Linked DNA regions of Homo sapiens: regions 1, 3 and 4 are each linked to region 2. The links are contacts of gene promoters, found by promoter capture Hi-C in human tissues and cell types (Jung and others, 2019). All regions are on one chromosome and are shown on one strand. Each heading gives the region's core, a stretch centred on a gene start or on the middle of the fragment in contact. The rest is flanking DNA. Distances are from core to core; before and after follow the strand shown.

What was found. Contacts are between HindIII fragments. The study calls those that stand out against the background at their distance.
Region 1: a contact is called between a fragment that was not itself captured here and the fragment with the promoter of MYT1L in region 2, in 1 of the 25 tissues and cell types used here (H1 embryonic stem cells).
Region 3: a contact is called between a fragment that was not itself captured here and the fragment with the promoter of MYT1L in region 2, in 1 of the 25 tissues and cell types used here (hippocampus).
Region 4: a contact is called between a fragment that was not itself captured here and the fragment with the promoter of MYT1L in region 2, in 1 of the 25 tissues and cell types used here (dorsolateral prefrontal cortex).

The regions. Positions count from the first base shown.
Region 1 is chr2:2,684,846-2,691,573 of GRCh38, reverse strand. No RefSeq gene overlaps it. Among named protein-coding and RNA genes, the nearest start is that of MYT1L, 360 kb to the right of the region's middle. The HindIII fragment of the contact is 4,500 bases long and covers 173-4,672 here.
Region 2 is chr2:2,326,456-2,332,998 of GRCh38, reverse strand. MYT1L (myelin transcription factor 1 like) reads left to right here and starts at 1,724. Exons shown (of 25, transcript NM_001303052.2): 1 at 1,724-2,032. It overlaps MYT1L-AS1 (MYT1L antisense RNA 1), which reads right to left. Exons shown (of 2, transcript NR_024468.1): 2 at 5,891-6,543. The HindIII fragment of the contact is 11,173 bases long and covers 1-6,543 here.
Region 3 is chr2:1,891,354-1,897,390 of GRCh38, reverse strand. MYT1L (myelin transcription factor 1 like) reads left to right here. Exons shown (of 25, transcript NM_001303052.2): 15 at 5,104-5,354. Among named protein-coding and RNA genes, the nearest start is that of PXDN, 150 kb to the right of the region's middle. The HindIII fragment of the contact is 6,948 bases long and covers 1-6,037 here.
Region 4 is chr2:2,667,411-2,673,520 of GRCh38, reverse strand. No RefSeq gene overlaps it. Among named protein-coding and RNA genes, the nearest start is that of MYT1L, 340 kb to the right of the region's middle. The HindIII fragment of the contact is 4,186 bases long and covers 162-4,347 here.

The DNA of each region.
Region 1 (6,728 bases), core at 1,173-3,672, 360 kb before region 2:
TGGTCTGTTTTCATGCTGTTGATAAAGACCTACCTGAGGCCGGGTAATTTATAAAGAAAAAAAGAGGTTTAATAGACTGAAAGTTCCACATGGCTGGGGAGGCCTCACCATCATGGCATAAGGTAAAGCCACGTCTTACTTGGTGGCAGATGAGGGAAGGAGAGCCAAGTGAGAGGAGAAAGCCCTCAGAAAACCATCAGACCCCGTGAGACTTACCCACTTCCATGAGAACAGGACGGGGAAAACCGCTCCCATGATTCAGTTATCTCCCACCAGGCCCCTCCCACAACACATGGGAATTATGGAACTACAATTCAAGATGAGATGTGGGTGGGGACACAGCCAAACCATATCAATCAGGACATGACAGTGGCAGACCTGGGCCGGGGTTGGAGCTCTCTAGATGGGAGGCAGTAATGCCTTAGTTACCTTTGTGAGGGAGTGAGAGAGGAGGGTGTGAGGGGGGAGTGAGGAGAGGGAGTGAGAGGGGAGGGTGTGAGAGGGGAGGGAGTGAGACAGAAGGGAGTGAGAGGGGAGGGAGTGAGAAGGGAGTGAGTGAGAGGGGAGGGAGTGAGAGGGGAGGGAGTGAGAGGGGAGGGAGTGAGAAGGGAGGGAGTGAGAGGGGAGGGAGTGAGAGGGGAGGGTGTGAGAGGGGAGGGAGTGAGAGGGGAGGGAGTGTGAGGGGAGGAAGTGAGAAAGGAGGGTGTGAGATGTGAATGTGTGTGGGAGGTTAGGGTGTGGGAGGTGAAGGTGTGAGACATGAAGATGTGTGAGAGATTAATGGTGTGAGCTTTTGAGAACCACGGGTGTGAGTGACGAATGTGTGTGACAGGTGATAGTGTGAGAGTTGTGGGTTTGACCAGTGAGCCATTCCCATCTTTCTCTGCTCATGCCCCTCAGGTGCTATTTGGGGTGTGGTCTCACTCAGGCAGACCGCCTGGAGCCTGCAGTCCTGGATGCTGGCCTTCAAGAGCCACTCTTTGCTTTATGTGGCCAGGCTTTGCCTAGCTGATGGTTCCTGGGACTTGAGCTTAGCAAGGTGGCTGTGGACAGGGACCTGGGCCGTCTCCCTGGTCTGGGGTCATCCCCGTGCCAGAAGCCAGCTCATGGAGATTGGGGCCAAACAGGAACAGTGTGAGTAGGGAGGAGAGAGGGTGGTGTGAACTCAGGGAAGAGGATGTAGGAGAGGAGGCAGCAGATGGGAGGCAGAAGGCAAGAACAGAACCAGAGAATGTGCCGGACTAAGCTCCCATGGGTGAGGCACCCTGGAGGATCCCACCCAGACAGCAACAGCCCATGCATAGAGGGTGGGGGAGTGAGGAAAGCAGCCCATGCATAGAGGGTGGAGGAGTGAGGACAGCAGCCCATGCATGGAGGGTGGGGGAGTGAGGACAAGCCTACCAAGCAGTGGTCAGGGCTGCCTGCTGCACTCCACGGCTCCTCCCCATGCTGCAGCCCCCAGGTGTCACCCAGCACAGTGGCCTGATGAGACCCTCCCACCTTTCTAGCAGTACCTAGGCCAGGTGGGGCTGGAACATCGAATGGGCAGGACAGCCGGATCCCACACCCGAGCAGCCACAGCGGTGGCTTTGAAGTGGCTTGTGAGCCACATCAGGCACTCAGGCTTTCTCCACAGACGAGGGCCTTGGGGGTCTTCCTAGTTGATGTCTCCCCAGGGCACCTGATTGGGAGGAAGACAACTGGCCCCTCATGAGCGCTGTGTCCCCGGCCACAGAACTAGTCAAGAGGGCTCTGTCTGAGGCTGGTGCCCTGGAATGATGGACACAGAAAGCCCTGGAAACGCCCCTCTGTGTCCTGGTCATTACTGTCCCCACAGCCCCATCCCTGGCTCTGAAACTTCGAAGGCATTAGTTTTACATCAGGCAGGCTCTGGGGGAGTTCTGTTCTCCAAATGCACCTGCTGAGATGGATCGGGAGGGTTTCGGGTAAGCCCTTTGCTCTGGGCAGAGCATTGAGGAGCTCTGGGGAAGGTCCCTGCCCAGGCGGAGCCGTTAGACGCCTGCTCCCTGCAAACCGTCACGCGCAGGGCGTAAGCGCAGCTGGCAAGCACATCCCTACTTCAGAAAGGGTTCAGAAAACAAGCATTGTCTGAGGATTAGGAGCACCTGACTACCCACACGGTTCAGCGCCACAACATCCAGGCTGTCAAGAGGAACTGTGGGAATAAATAATATTAAATGACAATTTGGCTGACAACAGAATGGGGTCATAAGAGCCATCAGCACTAGTTAATGGGAGGCTGTGAGGGTTCATTAGACCTGATACAGGAGGTTTGACTTGAAGTAATGGGGCAGATTGGAGGAGGAAAAAGTTGGTAGAATGATTAGGAAGAACAGGCGACGAGCTCTCTCACTCCGCGGGAAGTTGTCCCTGGAGGTGCGGTGGAGTTTCCCGAGATGCGGAAGATTAGACCAGGCAAAGACATAACATCCTCCGGGGATCAATTCTGCCTTGGCAAAGAAATGATCTCGATGATCGAATGCCTCTCCCGTCTCTGATTTAATGACGAGGTGCCCAGCAACAGAGAGGCAGAAGATATGGCCTCGAAAGGGAATGGGGAAATTATACTGTGAGGAGACTCAGGGTTGTCCCTCAATTTTTTCCTGTGCCGTGTTGACCAGGACACCTTGTTCTGTTAACCACTGAGTTCCCATTCACTATTTTCAAGGATTTCAAAAAGCCGTCCCCCTGGAAGACCATTTGATTCAACAACAAACGTACTGTTTTTTGACAAAGTGCATTGTATCCTTGCTACTCTAAGAGGTGAAGCATCTCAATTTGAACATGAATATTATCAGGAGGAACCAAACTACAAACTCGACACCACGCTGAGACATATAGTGTGGAGTGTGCAAGGGGTCTAAGAAACAGGCCCCAGTTGTGTGCCCGGTTCACTAAGGACAGACCTGTGATGTGTCTGGGTCTCCCTCACACTGAGAAACCGAGAGAAAGTAGGATATCAAATCACCAATGGGAAGAATGAGAGAAATTGTCCAAAACCAGCACAGGCAGCCTAAAGTTCATCAGCCCCGTGAGTGTGGTGGGGCTGGGAAGAGGCTTGCGTTCGTGGCCAGGGATGTCAAGAGAGGCCCTACATAGGGAGGAAGCAGGTGAGAGGAGCTGCCAGGAGGTTTCCTGTCACCTGTCAGTCATCCACGGCTGGTAACAAATGACCACAATGCAGTGGCATAAACAGTATTTATGATCTTGTAGTTCCTGTGGGGCAGGAGTCAGAGCTCAGGTTAGCAGGGGCTTTGGTTCTGGTCTCACAAGGCTGCAATTAAGACGCTGACCAGGGTGCATTCCCCTCTAGAAGCTCGACTGTGAAAGAATCCACCTCCATGCTCACATAGGTGGTTGCAGAATCCATCTCCTAGTGTTTGCAGGATCACTGGCCCCAGGTCCTTGCTGTCCATCATTTGGAGGACACCCTCAGTTCCTCGAGGTCATTCTCAGCTCCTAGAGGTCATCCGCAGTTCCTTGCTGGCAGGTCTTTCTTGCTTCATCAAGCCAGCAAGGAGAACCTCCAGTGTGAGTCTCCTGGAGAGGCGGCATCCAGGGTAGTGCAGTGTGATCACAGGCATGGTGTCCCTAACCCCTGCAACTGGCACATTCTGCTGAGTAGAAACCAGCCGCAGGTCCCATCCACCCTCACAGGGGAGGAGAGGCTGCCAGGGTGACAGTGCCAGGAGGGGACTGCCAGGACCCCCTTAAAGCCTGGGCTCCAATCCTGACAAACGTCCATCCTCAGGACATGCAATTCTAACTCTCATAGTTAGGTTTTCAGTTGCAATAATATATTTTAAAATATCAAGCTTCTTTTGAGTTTTACTCCTAAAAAATCTGAATAACCTCTTTTAATCTAAACAATTTTTCCTGCTAATTGTTAGTTTTATTCTACTAAAATTTGTCCAGTAGCATGTTTTCATGCACCATGTAAAGACAATTTTTTGAAGAGGACTCTCTCTCCCATAAGCTCCTGATCAGCTGGGGGTGACAGGACATCAAGGAGCTGTTTGTTCCCCCAGGATCCTGCCTCTGTCTCCAAGGCTGGGAGGTAGGTGGGGCCTCTCGAAGGCCTGCTGAGGAGGGAGGCGGGCCTGTGGGCTTGAGTGGTTGGCAGAGTGCGGGGGGTGGGGGGCCTGAGACGGATACATCAAACTGTGGGTCATTTATCTGTACTAATTATGTCATCAGAAATGCAGGTGAAAAAGGATGCATGAAGATAGTTTATTTTTATTTTTTAGTTTAAGTTCCAGGATACATGTGCAGAGCGTGCAGGTTTGTTACATAGGTTAACGTGTGCATTGTGGTTTGCTACACCCACTGACCTGTCCTCGAAGTTCCCTCACCTCGCCCTCCATCCCCCAGCAGGCCCTGGTGTGTGTTTATAAGGATGATTTCCTTCTCCCTAGCAAGACTTCCATGTGACAGGTGGAGGCCTCTTCCCACGGCCAGGCCCCTGCTTGCAGCTCTTCTCACTCCTGGCTCCTGCCTTCTCCAGGGCCCACGCTGGCTCCTGCATCCTCCACCTCAGTCACCCTGGGCCCCTTCCTGCAGGCACATCATGTGCTTATGTCTCTCCCACTTAAACAGCACATTAAAAAGTAAGAACAGGGCCACATGCGGTGGCTCAAGCCTGTAATCCCAGCACTTTGGGAGGCTGAGGCGGGCGGATACCCTGAGCTCAGGAGTTCAAGACCAGCCTGGGCAACATGACGAAACCCGTCTCTTCCAAAAAAAATACAAAAAAAAAAAAAGAAAAAGTAAAGTAAGAACATTTCTTGGTTCCCTTGCCCGCTCCAAGTGCTGCTTATTTCTTCTCTTCACATCCTTCCTTCCTGAAAGAATCATCTATCTTCTTCCTCTTCATCTGCTATCTCCCCTCAGATGGAGTCCCTGCCGTCCTCTCTGCCTTCCTCTTCTGTTCTTCCTTCATCCCACGTTTCCCTGAGCTCAGCGATGTCCTCTTTGATGGTAAAGGAAGCAGATACAACCCAGCCTTGGTTTTGCTTGGTCCGTCTCTGCACTGGACATAGGAGAGCTTGACCTGCCCTTTTCCTAGACCTCCCAGCTGCTCCTCTGCATCCCGTCCCTCCTGGCTGCTGCGGCTGTTTCCTTTGCAGGCTTTGGCTCCTCACGTGACCACTTCCTGTGCTCTCTCTGCATACATCTGCCACAGTTTTTATAAGTGTTCTTGTGTGATTAGACAATTCTGTTATAATATATAATTTTGCTAATGTAAAACATCAAATCTTCGTGTCTCGATGATCTCATCAGAATGAGCCTGCCTGGGTTCTCTGTGCTTTCCAGCCTCTGCTCCTCGCCCCTTTCCCTCTTCTCCGAATCCCCTTTCTAGACAACCTTCCCTAATCCCCCCAGTAGAGAATGATCCTTTCTTCTCTGAATTTTCTTCACCTTTCTATCAGACTTTCTTATGTCTTTTGTCACTTTTAACCTTGTTTTACATATTTTCATCTGTATAAGCTTCTCAGAGGCAGTGGGAGATGTATTCATCTTTGTGGCCCTATGTAAAATCTAACAAGTCATTTAAAGGGAAAGAATGTCTGCCCCACACTCTACCCCTAGAGACAGCACCTGCCCACACCTTACCCTCTATTTCCTTATGTGCAAAATGGAAATAGAACACCCATTTTTAGGTCTAATGTAATGAGGAGATAGCACACACATAGAATTACTAACATAATGTCTGGTACATTTAAGAATTCAATAGACACAGCAACTGCTATTATTATCATTAGGAACAGGAGGTAAGAATATTTGTTAAATGAATAAATGAATAATTGTATCAAGAAATTCCTTAAGATAGGAAGGAAACAAAGCGAAGTAGGTGAACAAACAAATCAAAAAGCAGCCAGCCACCCGGCCAATCCATTTAACTTCCTTCTGTTCTATGACATAAGCCACACAATAGCAACTCTTAAACATGTCTGTGTATTGGAAGTAACAGTGTCTTATATTAACTCATTAGGGATCCCTGCTGCTGTGGTTTGAACAGTCCCTCCAAAACTCAAGTTAAAATTTAATTGCCCTTGTGATGTATTAGAGGTGGGACTATCAAGAGGTGATTAGGCCTCATGAGGGGATCAATGTCTACATGGCAGGAGTGTGATCCTGAAAAAAGTGAGGTCAGCCCCCTCTTACCCACCCTTATTCTCTGAGTGCTCTTTTGCCCTTCTGCCTTCCACCCTGGGATGACGCAACAGCAAGACCCTCACTAGATGCTGGCACCGTGTCCTTGAACTTTCCAGCCTCCAGAACTGTAAGCAATCAATTATTTTTCTTTATAAATTACCCAGTCTGTAATATTATGTTACAGCAGCACAAAACGGACCAAGACAACTTCAAAAGCCTAAAGATCTCTATCATTTCCTCTGCCCTAAAAAAGACGGGGGGAGGGTGTCAAGTCTTTTGGTGGCAGATGTTAGAGATTTTCGAGCTTTAAAATAAAAAGAATTAGAAATTATCCAAAATTTAAGTTGAGGTTTATTTTTATCCCTATGGATTTAGATTCAAATCTGGACTTGCAAATTAAACTAGTGTTGAATGAAATGATTCACACTCTGCATTTTCTTAGGCCATTCACCTTATGTGCTCTTGATAACATTGTAGGCTTAAAAATACTCATATAACCATGTTCACAGAACTCGATTGCTTCTCTCCATGGGATTCATCAATATGTCTAT
Region 2 (6,543 bases), core at 475-2,974:
AAGACTGTTTATAACATAGAATAAGATGTATAGGAGAAGTAGAGTAAAATGAGTTTAGAAAAATTATTCGTTCTAATTTTTCAACCATTTTTTTGAGAGGTGATAATGGTCTAATTTCCAGAATGCCTTGAAAAACCCTGGAATACTCGGCAGAGGTGCTGCAAAGTAAAGCTTATTTGAGGGCAATCTTGAAGCTATGCCTGAGAATTTTAAACAACAAAATATCCAAGATTTATTTTTTCAATTGTGTTCGATTATTTTATTAGCTAGTAGCTTTCTCTGTTTTAATTCTCTGTGTTGCATAATATCTAGGATACAGTAACAGGCTGGTTGCAAATGCTCGAAACAGAAATAGGTTTCTTCATAGGCTGTGTTTCAGCATGTCCAACTGTGAGCCTGTGAAGCAGAGCATCGGAGTTCTCTCGAGGTCTGTTGCTTCAGATTTGGTTAGAAATTATTGAATCTGGAGTGTAAAAATCTTGTCTGGGCCTTTTAGGCAGCTTGATTTTAAAACTAGCCCTTCTGCCCCAAGACTTATCAACCGCCCCCCCACCCTGTCCCAAAAGAAAAGCTGAAGTAAGTTCAGTGTTAAAATAATGGTGCTGTCAGGCAGGCAGTCTGCATGTGAGCAGCAGAAAATTAGAAGAATAGAACCATCCATTCTCGTTTCCCCCCGCGACATGCACGCACACATACGTGCACACACACACACACACCACACACACACACACAGACAACACCAGTCAGTGAAGGGGGAAAAGGGTGATACCTTTTTAAAAAATGAAAGGCAGTAAGCCATTATTAGCAAGAGCTATATTGAGCATGCTTGCCAGACAAGCAGCAAAGCTGAGCTCCAGTTCCGCCCAGACATGTGCCTTGCCATTTTCATTTTAATCAGCCTGCTCAGGATGGCTGCTGATTCATTTTGCAGGATGTCCCCCTGGGAGCCAAGGTGGAAGCCTGAGGCGAGCTGCTATTGCATCAATGCAGCACATCAGAGCGAGAGCGCGGAGGCAGAGGGAGGAGAGAAAGCCTTCAGCACCGCATCCCGATTTCAATATGGCTAGTTAGAAGGTCCTGCATGAAACCGAGTCTATTGCAGAAAACATAATGAAAGGAAAGGAAAAGAAAAAAGTCACATTGTCATTTCATTATCCAACTATTCTCTCCCCCAACCCCTTCTTGCCACCAACAGACACACACACGTACACATTTTACAGTGACCATGAAAGATTTCAAGCCACTCTGTGGAAGTGTGTGTGTGTGTGTGTGTGTGTGTGTGTGTGTGTACTATTTACCTGGTAACTAGCTGGGGTGGTATACCTGATTTAGCTGGAGACTTTGATTTGTAGGACTGACAACCTTATTATGCAGTGAGTTTATTATTGATATTATTCTGCTCTCGGTTGCCATGGCCACCTTGTGAGAGACATTCAATTTTCTCTCTTCCATCATCATTATCTATGAGGCCATCTGTTGTGGAAAATGAATTCAGCCTCATTTGCATGACTGATAAGCAATTTTTTTTTTTATCTATTTAACAGAAGGTCATATGCCGGGGATTTGGAGCTTGTGAAAAAAAAATGTGGAAAAAAAAAAAAGCCTAGGAGAGGATGAGTGGGAGCGTGTGCATGGGGGTGTGTGGAAGTCAAACAGATCCCTGAGGCCTGCGAGCCTATCGCGCTGCATTTGTCATTCCTGCCCGGGCGACATTTTTTTTTTCCCTAAGCTACTGCACACTAAACAGTGAGAGAGCTTTTCCCTGCAGTCTTGTTGAAGCACCCCGGGTTTTTTGCTCATTGTTGGTGGGTGCATTTTAATTTTTTCATTCCCTGGACTATGGGTTATGATATCCATACTCACTGAAGACAAAAAGCCACCTTTTCTGCGTCTTGGTGGCATGCATGTGTCTCATCATCCTTTCAAACTTGTGGTGGAACAGGGTTTTCTTCCCTGTCTGTGTATTTTGAGCCAGCACAGTTACCAAAATTGAACTTGTCTTTCGCTTGTGAGCGGTTGTGGTCATTGTGAGGTACGTGATGTTCGTTAGGTTAATTTTTCGGGGAACTTAGTGAGCAGGATGTGTTTTACCGTAGCTCAAGGGCTGAGGCTGCTATTCCATTGTCTGCTCCTTTTTAAAGTTATTTTTACAGCATGGCTGGTAGCTGAAATGTTCCTGGACTGGAGGCTTTGTAATCCACAAAAAAATCTGTCTTTAAACTAAAATGGGTATTAGGTTGCATGACTTAACTGTGATGTTGTTTATTAAGAAAAAAAGAAACAAAAACAAAACGGGGTGCATGTATGGTGTTTGGAGGATAAGAGGATACTGAAACAAAAACTTCCCAGAGACTTTACTGGATTACTTTACATTACAAATGAAGCACATCATTTTATGCAAAGGCAATTAAAATGTTAGCTATTTTGGATGAATTTACCTGATGGTAAGAAGAAAGTTGATTTATATTGTTTAAGTGGAGAAACTCAAATAAAGATTTTTAAATTTAACTTAAATGTTTGAAGTTCATAATAATGAAAGAAAATGTTATTTATAACAGAAATATGTCTTTTTGTAACACCTAAATTAATAAACTAAAAGATTAAACTCTACACTTTAGTTTTAAGATAGATCTGAATAAAGCAAAAATATATATGTAAATATTTATATGAAAGTTAGCTATATAAAATATAGAGAACAGATTTTGAATTTAGTATTAACCATGACAATTTCTTGTACCATCAAAGCTATATAAGCTAAATAATTTCTAAGTTACTTAGAGTAAAACTATTTTATATAAGAGCCTTTTTGTTCAAATGTTTATATTTTCTACTAAACAAAATTAACGTCATAGACCAAAGCATCCCAAAACCACCCTTACTGGCATATGAGGGTCTTTCTAATTGTTCATCTTCATTTAGTGTCATGTAGCTTTAAAAATAATAAAGTCATGTCTCCCATACAGATAAAAATGTAATTATTTTTAAAAGAAAAGAGTTTTATAAAATATTCCTTTTCAAAAAAAAAAACAGCATTGCATTCCTATAAGTTTTCACCTCTCAAGAACTTTGAATCCAAAGTGTTGATTGTAAGTTATAAATGCTACTAAGAGAAACATTCCAGAAAAAAAGGAAGTTTGTTTTTTCTGATTGACCTAAAAGAACATGTATGATTCTATCACCTCAAATGCAGTAAGTTAATTGCTTAAAAGTCTCCTTAAAGTTATACTTGAGTGATAAATTTTCTTTATTAACTAACATAGACCACTACTGATGTGTGTGTGTGATGGTACTTTACTTGATTGCACTTTGAAAACTCTTACCATACTATCATACACTTTTCATAAACAATAACAGTTGTTATATAATCCTTCTGCTTTTAATCAGCCATATTTCTTTATATTTTAGCTTGATTTTCAGAGAAATAAGTTTATTTTAAATATTAATTGTGCATTTAAAGAATTTAAAACAATAAAATTCTGATAGATTATGAAGATTATTTAAAGTGACATCAGCTTTCTCAGAGGACTATAAGAATCAGTAATATGAGATCTGGATCTATATTATAATATGAAGGATTATGTTGTTGTCTTTTGATCTGTACATATAGTCTTCAGATTCGTGAATCAAAATTATCAACATCTAAAAAAACCTATGAGATAGCACAGTTGATTTTTCTCTCCTCCCCACCCCCACCCACAAAAAGTTAATTACCAATCTTGGTTGGATTCTTCCTTGCCTCCCTGACATTTGACTGCTGCTAATTCACTGATTAATCTCATTAATGTGATTATAGTAGGATTTAGAGTTGGCTGCCATTGTTCTGTAGACAGTGCTATTCAGGCTGAGCACTTGCCACCTCATTCAGTTTTGCTGTGATTTTTCAAAGGCTGGTGGAGTGAGCTATTGTGAGCAGGCTTCTCTGCCTTCCCTTTCAGCACCAGGAGCTGTCCGCAGCTGATAGCGATTGCATTCAACAGTGACTGACTTCCTCCTAGTTTATTGGCAATGTGAAAATGGCTCACTTTCATCACCTTAATGATTGTGCTAGTTGAGGTAGAAGTAGGAGAAGCCTTCATGGTCACATTTGGATGTTTTGAAGATGGTGGCAGCAAAGATATCTATACTTGAACATTTTTATTTAGTAAAGACTTTCCATCTGCCATTATACACATATTTTACTCTATTTCCAAATATTCAAACATATCAATATGTTAAAAATTACTTGTATATATGTATAGTTGTGGGTTGGAAAATTGTAAACATTATTACTTTTCAACTGGAAAATTTTATCCAAATACATGTAATTATTAATAAAATTCATCTTTGAAAAGATGCACCAGGACTATCTGGTGTCACAGTAAGGTAGAAAGTATGCATGACACACAAATTTCAACTTCTCTTGAGTTAAACTTGCATCCAACAGCAGAACTTATGCCAATTTCACAAATTTGTGTTAGAAGCTGAGATCAAGGTAAAGGCCCAATGATTTGTGACCACATATGAGTGGTGTACAAAAATTATTAAAGGAATATGAGTACCTAGTCTTCTTCGGGGTTATAAAAGCTGTCAAAGCATGACCTTAGGACTATGTGGATAGTTTCAGAGAATGAGACTTCTTTAATATGCTGTTTTCACTGTCCCTGTTATGTTTTTCACCTAATTTATTTATTTATTTTTTACTCTCTTGAAAATGTTTCTATTTTGTACCTTACTCTTGAATATACCCAATTATTTCACTGTCTGATGTTTTCTGTCTGCTTTCTGTGTCAATGTTTAATAGATTAGGGAAAAGAAATAAGTGATTATGCAATTTCAAAGATTTGTAAAGTTTTTCTATTTGTTACAATTATACTTAAAATTAAAAAATTGAGTTAATAATCTGATTATTTGTTCAGCTGCTTTTATAAATACTTTACATTTATAATTTTTAAAAGCCAATTACTTCTCTGTGAAAAATTAATTTTGTCAAGTAAATAATGTTTTCAAAGTCACATGCATAAACTAGATTTCCAACTCTACCTGTAAGCCAATTTAATTTGAGGGAGAGACATTATTTTAGAAATACATAATATACAATCTGAAAGACTTTGTTTACTTGTTATATATTTTAGTGGATACATTTTAACTTCAAACAACTTAAAGGTTTATTTACCCTTAAATATTTTATATTAAAAAAAACTCCTCTGTGGAATTAGAGGGACTAGTCAGATGCTCTTTGATAATGACCACTCTGCTTTGCACTTACAGTTTGGTTTGGCTGGGTGTCCCTTTTAGACCAGGGCTATAATTTTCAATCAATAACCAGTGTTTCCAATGCATGTTGTCCTTTGCCAGGAAGTCTACCTTGATGCAAAGTCTCACCAGAACTCTGTTCAGGAGGCAAATGAATGGTAGACTCAGAAAGAGAGATCTACAGTTTTGGTAAATTTTTATAATCTAATTACTCCATAGCGTAATTTGAGCGCAATGATGTTATGCATTTTCCTATTTCAAGTTTTTAAGAGTTCTTTTTTTGAATATCTTCTTTTTTATTTGAAAAGTTGTGTAGTATTCTTTAGAAAGGAGTAACTGAGGATAAACTTGAACAAAAACTTGCAAATAACATATTTTTCACCAAGCTAAGTTTCATCATACTGTATTCTGTACCACAACACAACACCTGACATTGATCTGCATTTCTTCCAAACAAAACTGAAGACAAAAGATACCACAAACTTGAAGAAGTAAATAGATGTAGGTTTGTGTTTGTGTGTGTGTGGTTGGGGGCAGTGTCATATCTACATATCATGGTTGCTGGTATGAAAAAGATATTTTAAATTGACATACCACCCCAATATTTAAAATATTGCCTATAGTGACCATAACTCATATGAAATAATACAAATATTCTACTTTTATAGTATTTTATTGCATGATTTTTTCTGATATTAGATTATTTAAAGGCAACAGCTATCCATTTTTTCCATCAGTGGGCTATTTCAATGCAATGTGGTTCTGTTTGTAATATCTTTGTGTCTTGTCTCTTCTCTCTCTTTCTCTCCACTTTCCTTTCTCTCTCTTCTGCCCCCTCTCTCTTTAACTTGGTCCCTGTTTGTCTGTTTTGCCACCCTCTCTTCTCTCTGTGTTTCTTTCACACCTGCATTGTTCAAGCATACACAGTGATTTTTCTATGCATGTTTCTACAATGGAAGTGTTTTTGGCTTTGACATCATAATGAGTCCTCAGGGTATCTGTAGAAGTAATCAGAGATGGCAGAGAAAATGTAAGCCAGGTGTTATAAAACTAGAAAGAATGCATGAATGCTTATTTATTAGATAGAGAAAGAGTGATAAGCATTGCTGTATTAGGCTGTTCTGCTAGGAAAATTTTCCTACCATGTACCTCTTTTAAAATAATCTCTGCTCCCCACGTGGTGATTATTGGAAAAGTTGGCGGGGGGGAATATTTTAGTCTTACTGTAAGGAGTATTGTGTTGTGAGAAGATGGAATGGTACAGGACATTCTCTTAAAGCTTTCCTTGCTTTCAGACTGCAGTGGTGTCTA
Region 3 (6,037 bases), core at 1,755-4,254, 440 kb after region 2:
ACCAAGCATCCTCTGTGCTGGAAGAGGGGGAACAGAGCACCCTCAATTTGAAGCCCCTGCTCTGCAGCGCCCCCTGCTGTCAGGGCACTGAGCCGAGCAATGCTGATTGTGGTCCAAAAGATACTGGCATGAAGGGCTGTGCTGACATTTTACAAATAGGGATAATTATTAGGACCAATGACCTTCCTTTCCTGAGCAATTTTAACTGTAGGCCCTCTTATTTTTATTTTTGTTTTAATTAAAACTTTTAAATGACATTTTTATATTCAGTAAAGGATGCATGTGAAAGTAGATACTGTCTTAGTTGCCCATTTGAGTGCAGTGAGTTGATAGGCACATCAAAAGACTCTTGACAGTTCAGTCACCGACTAAAATTCGGTACCATCCACTTGGCGTCATCTAGTTGTAGCATCTTATGAATTAAATATCTGGGAAAGTCAATGCATCGTCACATCTACATTTTATAACTTCAGGATAATTTAAGGTGATTCAAGTAAGATGAGAGGAAGAAATGCAGAGAGTCGTTTTAGTTAAAAATTCTTTCAAGTAAAATGTTGTCACATAGAGGTAGCATTTTTCTTTTTTGTTTCAACTTTTATTTTAGATACAGAGGGTACCTGTGCATGTTCATTACACGGGCATATTGCACCCAGGTAGTGAACACAGTACCCAAGAGGTATTTCTCCAACCCACTCCCCTCTCTAGTGTCCACAGTGTCGATTGTTCCCATGTTTATGTCCCTGTGTGCTCTATGTTTAGCTCCCACTTACAAGTAAGAACATGTGGTACAAAGTTTTCTGTCCCTGCATTAATTCATTTAGGTTTGTGGCCTCCAGCACCATCCATGTTACTGCAAATGACATGACTTTAGACTTTATTGTTTTTATGGCTGCATAGTATCACAGAGTGTCTATGTACCGCATTTTCTTTATCTAATCCACCACTGATGGGCGCCTAGGTTGATTCTGTGCCTCTGCTATTGTGAAGAGCATGGTGATGAGCATACGAGTGCATGTGTCTTTCTGGTACAACGATCTATTTTCATTTGGGTAAATCTCAGTAACAGGACTGCTGGGTCTAATGGTAGCTCTGTTTTAAGTGCTTTGGGAAAACTTCAAACTACTGTCCAGTAGCTGAACTAATTTGCATTTCCACCAAGAATGTATAAGTGTTCTCTTTTCTCCACAGCCTCTCCAGCATCTGCTGTTTTTGGCTTTTTAATAATAGCCATTCAGACTGGTATGAGATGCTGTCTCACTGTGGTTTTGATTTGCAGTTCTCTGGTGATTAGTGATGTTGAGCATTTTATCACATGGCTGTTGGCCACTTGTATGTCTTCTTTTGAGAAGTGTCTGTTCATGTTCTTTGCCCATTTTTAATGGGGTTATTTGTGGTTTGTTTGTTGAAGTATTTGTTCCTTATAGATGTCAGATATTAGGCATTTGTCATCTGACATAGTTTGTGAATATCTTCTCCTATTCTGTAGGTTATCTGTCTGCTCCGTTGATAGTTTCTTTTGCTGTGCAGAAGCTCTTTTGTTTAATTAGGTCCCTCTTGTCTATTTTTGTTTTTGTTGCAATTGCTTTTGGAGACCTAGTCAAAAAAAATATTTGCCAAGGCCAGTGTTGAAAAGGGTATTTCCTAGGTTTTCTTCTCAGATTTTTATAGTTTGACATCTTACATTTACATCTTTAATCCATCTTGTTAATTTTTGTATATGGCAAAAGTATGGGTCTAGTTTCATTCTTCTACAAATAGCTCAGCCATTATCCCAGTACCATTTCCCCACTGCTTGTTCTCATTGGCCTTATCAAAGATCAGATGGTTGTAGGTGCGTGGCTTTATTTCTGAGTTTCCTATTGTGTTCCATTGGTCTGTGTGTCTGCTTTTACACCAGTACCAAGCTATTTTGGTTACTGTAGCCTTATCGTGTACTTTGAAGTCAGGTAGAGTGTAACCTCTGGCTTTGTTCATTTTGCTTAGGATTGCTTTGGCTATTTGGGCTCTTTTTTGATTTCATAGAAATTTTAGAATCATTGTTTTTCTAACTCTGTAAAGAATTACGTTGGTAGTTTGATAGGAATAGAATTGAATCTGCAGATTGCTTTGGGCAGTATGGCCATTTTAACAATATTGATTCTTCCAATTCATGAACATGAGACATTTTTCCATTTATTTGTGTCGTCTCTGATTTCTTTCAGCAGTGTTTTGTAGCTCTCCTTGTGGACATTGTTCACCTCCTTGGTGAGCTGTGCTCCTAGGTATTTCCTTTTCTTTGTGGCTACTGTGAATGGGATTGCCTGCTTGATTGATGGTGAGCCTGGATGTTATTGGTGTATAGAGATGCTGGGGTAGCATTTTCTAATTGATAAGATACTGAACTCTCCCAGACAAACACATCGTTGATGGCAGTCGAGGCTCTTTGTGGACGTTGGGCAGCCTCAGTCTCCACATCTGTGAAGCAGGCATGTGGTAGCATCTTACAGGGTGGTGGAAGTCTAGATGCAATCCTGTTGGAGGATGCTGTGAGCACAGTGTAGCAGGAGTCACTGTGAGAGGGGCTCATGACGAGAAGTCTCTGGGCGTCAGCGGGAGCTCCTGCCACACCTCCACACCCACACTCCTGAGCATCGCCCTCACCAACGCTGAGTGCAAGGTTGCCAGCCGACCTATGTCAGCTGCCGTTGTTTGTTGCATTAACTTGTGTTATTCCTTTAATTTTTTTTAGGAATTGAAATTCCCTCATTTCAAAACAAAAGTGTTATTTTTTTTAATTTATGTGGGCAATGTTTTTTTTTTTCCTAAACCAGTGGCTAGCCCTCACTAGTAAAAACAAAACCCCATATTATTATTTCATTTCTCCTACAATTATTCTACTATTTCTTAACAAAATTGTAAATTATGTAAAATCACAACCTTTAGTTCATATCCAAAGTATCACAAACTGCAAACTGGTTTGTGACGGTTGCTTAGGGTGGATCAAGGTGTGCACTGCACAGGGCCCGTGGGGGTGCCCTTACAGCCTCTGCTGTCTCCCTCTGGTTGACTCCTTTGCAGCCCCACGGTGGTCTCTCTCAAAGGCCCTGGTGTGGGCCTTGCTCAGACCAGCAGCCACTGCCCACCCCGCCCTGCACTGCTGGGCTCCCTAGAGGAGGGGCATCCCAAAGTAGAGAGAAGGGAGGGGCACACTGAGGGACACTCAGACACGCTTCTCAGGGACAGCTGTGCCCCACCAGCCATGGGCCCACTCTGAGTGGCTTTGCTCATTCAGATTAGCAAAACACAGTCATAATATCAACAGATTACTATTGTATTTCATGGGTTTTGTGGGTGCGGATTTGAGCCTCTGGCTCATGCACAGGAATCTGGGTGTAAAGCGGTTACTTGCTTGGGGAATTCTCTGTAGCTTTTGGCAGAGGCTGAGACGAAGACAGCCTGGCCAACTCCCAGCCTGGGCACTGTCCTCAGTCTTCCTCTGCAGAGGCCTGTGCATTACAGAATCACCAATAACACACCTCTTCCCCATGTCCTGAGAGCCTTCAGTCCCAAACCAAACCTTGTCAATGAGGACTCCTTCTTTTTTCCCTTTGTATCCAAATCCAGGGCAATTTCTTAGCATTGCTCATAATGACCGTATCAGCAATGTGAGAAAGCTTTTTGCTTCACTTAGCTTTGTTCTCTTCTTCCTCTGTGGGAAGGAGTCCCTGGGGAAGCCTGGCTCCAGGTTCAGAGCTGCTGCCGATGGCACAGAAGACACCGCAGGAGCCATGACCAACTGCGAGGTCTCCCTTTCCTTGTAGCAACAGACAAAACCATAGTTTCCATCAGAATTAGGCAGCTTGGAGCTTTGCCGATTAGGACTAGGGCAGCCCTAAGCACCAGGAGAACCCGGGCTAGAGTGTCTCTAGCCTATCACCAAGTTCTCCCAGCTACACTCACAACGGTCCCAGGGAAGCAGGCGGGGATCTCTTGGGGAAGAAGGTGCTTCCTAAAGGGAGGGGCTCACTGACGGAGGGATTTAGGACATGGGAGAGACCAGGTCCACCTCTGAGTAACTCTTCACTCTGCTGGATTCCAAGAGAAATGTCTGGCCATGCACAAATGAAGTCCTGTGACATTAACTGGCAGGGATAACAATTAGTAAAGAAGGACCCATCGGATAAATCCTGGACTGAAACATTGTCATGTACTAAAGGAGATTTAAATAGCTCTAACAAATAACCCTTGCCCCTCAGTGCTGGTTTGGCTGTTAGTGAGTGTGGTGGCTCAGAAAGGATTACTGGGCAGTGGGAATCGTGTCAGTGAGGGTCAGTGCAGGGAACAGAGAGGCCGTGGCTATGAAAGAGGCAGCTGCACACGTGCCCCGCGTGTCTGCCACCACCAAGTGGCCACTCAGGTGTTTCGACATTTATCCTGAGCTTATTCTCTATGTGCATTTCCCCGTTTCACTCCCATGGCCTGTATCAGAATTCTAGAAAAAAAAGGATGTTGGACTCACCCTATCTGGTCTGCATGCCCAGCCAGAAATCCACCTCCCAAAGCACGTGGTCCCCACAGGCCCAGAAGGTGGCTGCCGGGGCCCCTCTGGCTGAAAGGAACAGCCCACCTCTTGACAGATAAGGGACCGCGGATCCAGGTTGGGTCACCAAAAGTGCTCACGAGCCCTCATGTGCTGCGGAGGAGCCCCACTCACGCTTAGGGCCTCGACTGGGATTTGACTGGGCTGGAATTCCCAGTCACTTCCCTACACCCTGCGGCTCCTAAAAGCTAGCCAGCCGTGTGTCTGTCTTTCGAGGGACCAGGTGACCGCCTGTGCTGGGTGTGAGGTGCAGCCTCTCCAACAGGTCGATGAATTATCCTCCAGGGCAAAAAAAAAAAAAAAAAGGAAAAAGGAAAAAAGAAGAAAAAAGAAAGGAGCCGGAAAGTTTTGTTTTGTTTTCGTTTGCCTGTTGTTTGTTTTCTTTACGCGTAAGCCCCAGCACCCTGAGGGCCGTCCCACGCGGCTGTGTGTGGCTGAGGCCGGGGCGGGCAGGCCCTGCCGTGTGCTGTCTGCCGTGTGCCCTGCGGCCGGGGCCTGAGTCATCCCTGTCCCTGTCTCCCCAGCGAAGCGGTACTGCAAGGACCCCAGCCCCAGCAGCAGCAGCACCAGCAGCTACGCGCCCAGCAGCAGCAGCAACCTGAGCTGCGGCGGGGGCAGCAGCGCCAGCAGCACGTGCAGCAAGAGCAGCTTCGACTACACGCACGACATGGAGGCGGCCCACATGGCGGCCACCGCCATCCTCAACCTGTCCACGCGCTGCCGCGAGATGCCGCAGAACCTGAGCACCAAGCCGCAGGACCTGTGCGCCACGCGGGTACGCGCGCCTGGGCAGGTGGAGCCACCTGGCGGGTGGGGGAGGCCGGGCCGCGGACCCAGCCACCGAGACACGCGGCGCTTTCGGGGCAGCTGTATGGGGCAAACGCCGTGATCTCCTAAACCATTCTCGCCACTGTGAACAATTAGTGCAGCTTCCCTTAACGCAGCCTGAACACACCATTGTCCAAAGCGCATCCATTTTCTAAATCAGAGGCAAGGGTCAGATCTTGTAGATGAACGTGCGTGAATGGATCCTTCTCTCCAGGATCCAGAAGCATTTCTGTAAACAAAGGACACCACGTGGGCCTCCTGTGGTCTCCAGTGACCGCACAGAGCATGCAAAACGAAGCGTGGGTCTCCTTGAACTTTGACAGGAAGTTCTGCTAGCACCATTGTCACGTGAAATGCAGGGATCTGCCTATGGACTCCTGGGTAGCAGGGAAAGGAAGTAAAAATCAGACTTCACACCAAGGGATCAGCCGTGTATTTACAGCCAGCACTCGTCAGTTCCACATTTTCATGGATGCTATAGTGCTATGAAAGGCATAGGAAGAGTGTCTATTTTTAATTTTCTTATCAATTGAACCAGTGCTTATGCTGGGCAGGAGAGAGAGCGTTTAAGATGCAGCACAGACCTGGGAGACAGCTGCCTCGCCGAGGCCACCAGGCGGCTGGGGAGAA
Region 4 (6,110 bases), core at 1,005-3,504, 340 kb before region 2:
CTATACTCCTAGTTTTTGTCTTTCACTCCCTTGCACAACAGAATTACTTTAAATTCTATCTTGCCCTAGTGCTGTAGCCAGTACCTCGTGTTATACTGGAATAAATACATCTAAAAAAGTAGAGCCCGAGTTGGAAACATTCTCACTACTTAGCTAAATAAAGCATTCACCATGGAATATTCGGCTACTTGATCTCTTCGGAAGGTGGCTAAAATCCAGTCTTCAGCTTTTGTTACTCAGTCTCGTGACTATTGCTGTTATTTTTGTAAAACTTAAGTCACTTCTCCTTATCCACGTGTGCTTAGAAATCAGTTTAACCAAAGTAACAGTCCTTAGAAGCACGATATGATATTCATCAAGCATATGATGTGGAAAACACATCTGATCTGACAATTCTGGGGACCTAAGCAGGCTTGACAGCATTCCTTTCAAAACCACCTGTTAACTCAAATGTAACACAGTCTAGTCTTACATTTCCATAGGCCTAGAGACCCCCTGATAAGGAACGTGACTCCCTGGGACAGGTATATCCCAGCGACAAAGAACAAAATCAGACTCACCGGTTAATCTGAGATGCCTTCTGGATAAAGATCTTGATCAAAAGGGGAACATGTGGAAGGTGAGGTAACTAAGGCTTTCTAAAGAGGGGTTGGAAGATGGTGACAGCATTGCACCCACACCTGCTAGATGCTCCGGTAGACTTGAGGAAGCAACTGAAGTCACTGTCCCCCAGCCTTCTACAACTCTTCACTAGGACCACACTGATTATCTCACCAAGCAGAACAGGTTTGCAGTTTAGGATCTCTGCCAAGCCAACAAATGGCCATGTTGGAGACAGGCACAGCCCTCAGAACTGACCATCATCTCTTCCGGAGGATACACGAGTATCCGTGTCCAGTCCCAGCTGCAGGACTCACAGAGTGACCCTAAATGCAATATAAACCTGGCTTCCTTAAAGGTTTTGCTTTTTCAGCTTCCCTGAGATTTTTGGCGTTGCCATGGAGCGGCTGACTTAGGCAGCGCTGGCGCAGTTGCTTAACTCTCTGGCTGTGCAGCTTCTTGTCCACCACACGGTGATGGGCCATGTGATTACCAGGCCACGGCCAGGACCTGGGGACAGCGGGGCTGAGTAGGACTCAGGGCCTCATCAAGGAAAGGCCTCGAAAACCAGCTTTTTGTGAAAATCCCCTTCCAAACCCCCTCACGCGCCTGCCTCGCAAGACGCTCTTCAGGGCTGCCCTGATTCAGTATATTCAAATGGCAGTTCTTTGTTTCTCAGATCAATGCTATTTCCTTGGGTCTTTGTAGCCATCTGTTTTTTTTTAGTTAGTAATGTGTTTCACCCAATCCGCCCTTTCAGCTGCTGCTCCAGGGATCTGTGCCTCTTTGCAGTAAAACCCTTGGGTCATCCTGTGAATTCCAATTCCTCCCCTTCTTTTCTGTCTTAAACTCACTCCAGCTGGACTTCTGCCTCGCCCAGGCCCCATGATGACGAAGGCCCCATGCGGCTGCCCTTCTGGGACTCCCTCAGCGTAGTCATGGCCCATTGTCCCTGGAAAGCAGGACTCACCAGCTCGAAGAACATGGTGCCATCTTGGTTTCCCTTTGAACCCACTGCTCATTCTCAGACTCCCTGCTGGTCCTTACACATCTTGAAGACCTTTTAACTGTGGCCCTTTTGACTCAGGGCTCAATGTTTGGTCTTCGTAGCATTTCCCTCCATTTTCAACGATGTCTCTCTGACGAGGATTCACCAGCTGATAGATGTTCTCCAGCTCACACCCATTCCTGCTCTGTCTACCTCACATCCGGCCTGAGTGTCAAATAGGCTTTTCCAGCTTCGCCCGTCCGGAACTGAAGGTACGATCTTCCCCCTGTGAAGTGCTTCTTCCACAGCTCCCTTAAGGTCCTTCTTGTGGCTTTTCTTTTTTTTTCTTTTTTCTTTTTTTTTTTTTGAGACAGAGTCTTGCTCTGTCACCCAGGCTGGAGTGCAGTGGCGTGATCTCGGCTCACTCCAAGCTCTGCCTCCCGGGTTCACGCCATTCTCCTGCCTCAGCCTCCCAAGTAGCTGAGACTACAGGTGACCACCACCAAGCCTGGCTAATTTCTTTTGTATTTTTTTAGTAGAGACGGGGTTTCACCATGTTGGCCAGGATGGTCTTGATCTCCTGATCCATCTGTCTCGGCCTCCCAAAGTGCTGGGATTACAGGCGTGAGCCACCACGCCCAGCCTTCTCATGGCTTTTCTGTCTGCCTCGAATTCTTCCCCCAGAGCCTGTTGGATTCTTTCCCCCATCCTTGCAAGCTTTCCCTCAAACACTTCCTTCTCAATAGGGGTGACGTGGCCACCCTCGCTGACTCTGCTTATCCCCCACGCTCACCTTCCTGGGCCTCCTGGACCCCTCTGCTTCCTCTTTCTTTCACAGCACATTTAACCTTTAACAAACTCTATGCTTTCTCATTCATTCAGTTCACTCTTCATTGTCTGTCTCCCCCAGACACTGCAGGCTCCACCAGGCAGGAATTCCTGTTGTGTTTTTGTCAGTATCATGAGCAAATAAGGTCGTGCTGGCTCTGGGGTTGGGTTGTGAAGTTGGATTTGGGGTGACAGGGTGAAGGAGTAAACTCAGGTAGAGGTCAGGTGATAAAGAACCCTGAAAATATGGAAATAGACTGGAGGTCGATTCTGGGGAACCATAAAGACAGTGAAGTGAGGACCAGCATTGTTGGACTTGACTCTGGAGAGGTGCCTGGCTGCAGTGGTGAAGGAACGGGAGATGGCAGCCTGGGCTGAACCAAGATGGAGAGCGGGAGACGAACTGAGCAGAACTTTTCAAAAGGCAGCCCAGCAAAGGCATTTTGCCTTGTACAGCTGGCTTCATGAAAGGCAATTAAGCATGAATTAGAGGAGGAGAGACCGGCTCAGTGTCAGGGCGACCTGCTCCATTTGGGCAGCTCCATCTCCGTGGGACAGTGCAGAGCCCTAGGCTTCTCCCTCTTGCACCGGCCAGGCACTCTGTGGCCTCCTGGTCCTGCTGTGTCATGCACACCACCCATTTTCTCTCTGTCTCATATTTTTGTTTTCTGATTTTAAAATGTGTACGATGGGGACAAGATGAAGTAGTATTCTCATGGTAGGCGAGACATGAATCTTCCTTGAAGTGGCACACATAGAATGAATGGGGGGTAACTGGCCCATGGAGAACACTCGATAAAGCTCAGGGATGAACACGAGCTCGGCAATCCTGGAGTTGGAATGTGCTGCCGTTAGCTCAGAAACACGAAGCTGAGATCACTGAAGGACGCAGTCTCAGCCCAGGGGCTTCAGGGGTTGGGGGATGTGGTCCCAGGTCAGGGGCTCCAGGGGTTGGGGGGCTCAGTCCCAGCTCAGGGACTTGAGGGGTTGGGGGATGTGGTCCCAGGTCAGGGGCTCCAGGGGTTGGGGGATGTGGTCCCAGGTCAGGGGCTCCAGGGGTCGGGGGATGTGGTCCCAGGTCAGGGGCTCCAGGGGTTGGGGGACTCAGTCCCAGCTCAGGGACTCAAGGGGTCGGGGGATGCGGTCCGAGCTCAGGGGCTCCAGGGGTGGGAGCGGCCACAAACCCCTCTCAGGCTTGGATGAAGGGCTGGGGTGTGGGGCCCCAGGGGTCCTGCTCTCCCTCTGTGACTCTGTCCCTCTTCTCGGACTCCCACCTTCCACTGCTGCCTCTCTGCTCTGTCCCATTCTCTCGTTTTTATAGCTCAAAAATGTTCCACCCTCTCTGGGTCCCATCTGACTTCTAACTTTTCTCAGTTCAAGCATCCAGAGAAGCCAACCCACACCTCTGTGTTCTAGTTCCTAGTGACCAGGAAAGAAACTCAATGGGCCAGCTCCCCCAGGCCGCTTGGCCAGGCAGGTCCGCAGGCCTGTGGCCACTGTCACCAGTCACGCTGATGAAGGGTCATGAGGCTCAGGGCATTGGAGGCCACTGCCAACGTTGGCCCTCGGGCGCTTGGAGCAGCTAGAACCGGCCCTCGGCTCCAGGTCCTCACCTGCAATTTCACGGTCAGGAAAGCCCTTGGCTCCGGGTCCTCACCTAGGTCTTCCTCCCACCTCGCAGGGCAGCCCTGTGCCCCGGCATGTGAGGCTGAGGCACGTGCCTGGGACACTGTGCGCATGGGAAGGGACGTCATTAAGTCCTTCAATTCCAACACCGTGGAGGAAATCCCCTAGGATGCGTCCTCCCAGAGATTCGGGGGCCCTGACTCCTCGCTGCATGAAGGGGCCTGAGCCCACCTGAGCCAGGGGCAGGTACATCCTGTTTGCTCAGCCCTGCCCTGCAGCAGCTACCTGACACCCGTGTCCCACCACCGGGCCATGTGTGTGCTGGGGCCTGACTGGAGCCCGATAAGGGGGGTGGGGGGAACAGAACCTGAGCTGTGGCTGCTCCACACAGAGATGCAGCAAACCCGCTGTGGCTGCACCTGGACCAGGCGTCGCCCCAAGTGAGGCTCCTGCCGTTTCCCTGGGCTCCGTGAATGCAGCTTCACTCCGAGCTTTGGCTGGCAGCAGCCCCTTGGACACCTCCTTGATCCTCGGGGCCCTTCTGTGAATCATTCTGACCCCTCACACGCCGCCAGAATCACCCGCGTCACCCTGGGTGAGACCATCAGCAGTTCGCAGGCCTGTCCTGGAGGTCCCACACCAAGGGAGTACTCAGGGCTTCCTGGCTGGAGACACTGCTGAGACCCCGGGAAGCAGGCTTGGCTGCAGGAGAGTGAAGAACGGAGGATTTGTATTTCGCACGTAAAAAGCCAAGGCAGGAATGAGCCGGGAGTGTACGGTGTGGGGGAAGAGGGAGCACAGCCCACGGGCAGGCAGGGTCCGCACTGGAGGCCATGGGTGTGGGGCCCCTGGCCACTGAGGGTGGAGGGGTTGGTCGAGTTCCCCTGGGCCTGTCGGGACCACTGGGCATTGGCCAGAAGTTTTTTTGCAGCCACAGAGGCAAGGGTGCCATTCTTTTGAACAAATCAAGATTCCGCTAAGCGAATGACAGGTGTGGCCCACTATGGCCAGCAGTCTGCAGGGCTGGTCTTCTGCATGAGGGAGGCCGTTTTTGTGGAGGCCGAGGTGGACAATGACTCCAGGCAGCCCTACTCGGCCGCTTCTCTGGCCTCCGCAATCATGTGGCATCTCTTCAGGTGACAGTTTTAATCAGGAACAGACAGAGCTCGAAGGGTGCTTCAGTTGCATTGTGAAGATGACCTGGAATCAGGAGCACTCATCCAAGTCTTCAGATGCACTGAAGAGAGAGGGGTTAATCATGACTGCAGTTTCCATTTCAGTGATGTGCATAGCGCTCAGAACTGACCATCCTCTCTTCCAGAGGATACTCCAGTACCCGCTTCCAGCCACAGCTATGGGACTCACAAAGTGACCCCAAGGTAACATGAACCTTGCAACCTGTTTTCTTAACTTCACTGAGGTTTTCAGCATTGCCAGGGAGAGGTTGACTTAGGCAGAGCTGACACACATACTCGATGCACTGGATGTCCAGCCTCTTGTGCACTACACAGCGGTGGACTGTGTGATCACCAGATCACAGCCAGGTGGCCTGGCCAGGGCTCATGGCTGGGCCAAGTGGGGAGAAATTAGAGGGAGCTGTCTGGTGGCAAGTGGCCAAGTGGGAGGGGAAGGGACTTGGAAGGTGCCTGAGCTCTGAGACTGAGGCTGGCATCCAACCTGGAAGAGCCGAGACTGATGTCCTGCACCAGGTCAATGTGCACCTGAGCTCTCTGTGCAGGAAAAGAACTGGGCGCTGACAGGAATTCTGCTGTGCAGCACCTCATGGTTAATCGTGACAGCAGCCCTGTGAGGCACTTGTCTTCACTATTTACAGATAAGACATCCGAGGTTCAGAGAGATTAAGCTGTATCACCTGGGAGATGTCAACCACATTTCAAACGCGAGTCCTTTTCCTCCAGGGCTGCTGTTTCCCATGGAACAGTTATCTCCCTGCACATAGGCTGCAGTGTTACAAAATGGGGAGTGATGTTTCTTGAGCAGCTACTGCTAGCCAGGAATGTGTATCGGAGATCTCTGCGTTTCCACAACACGTCTGCTGCATTAAATC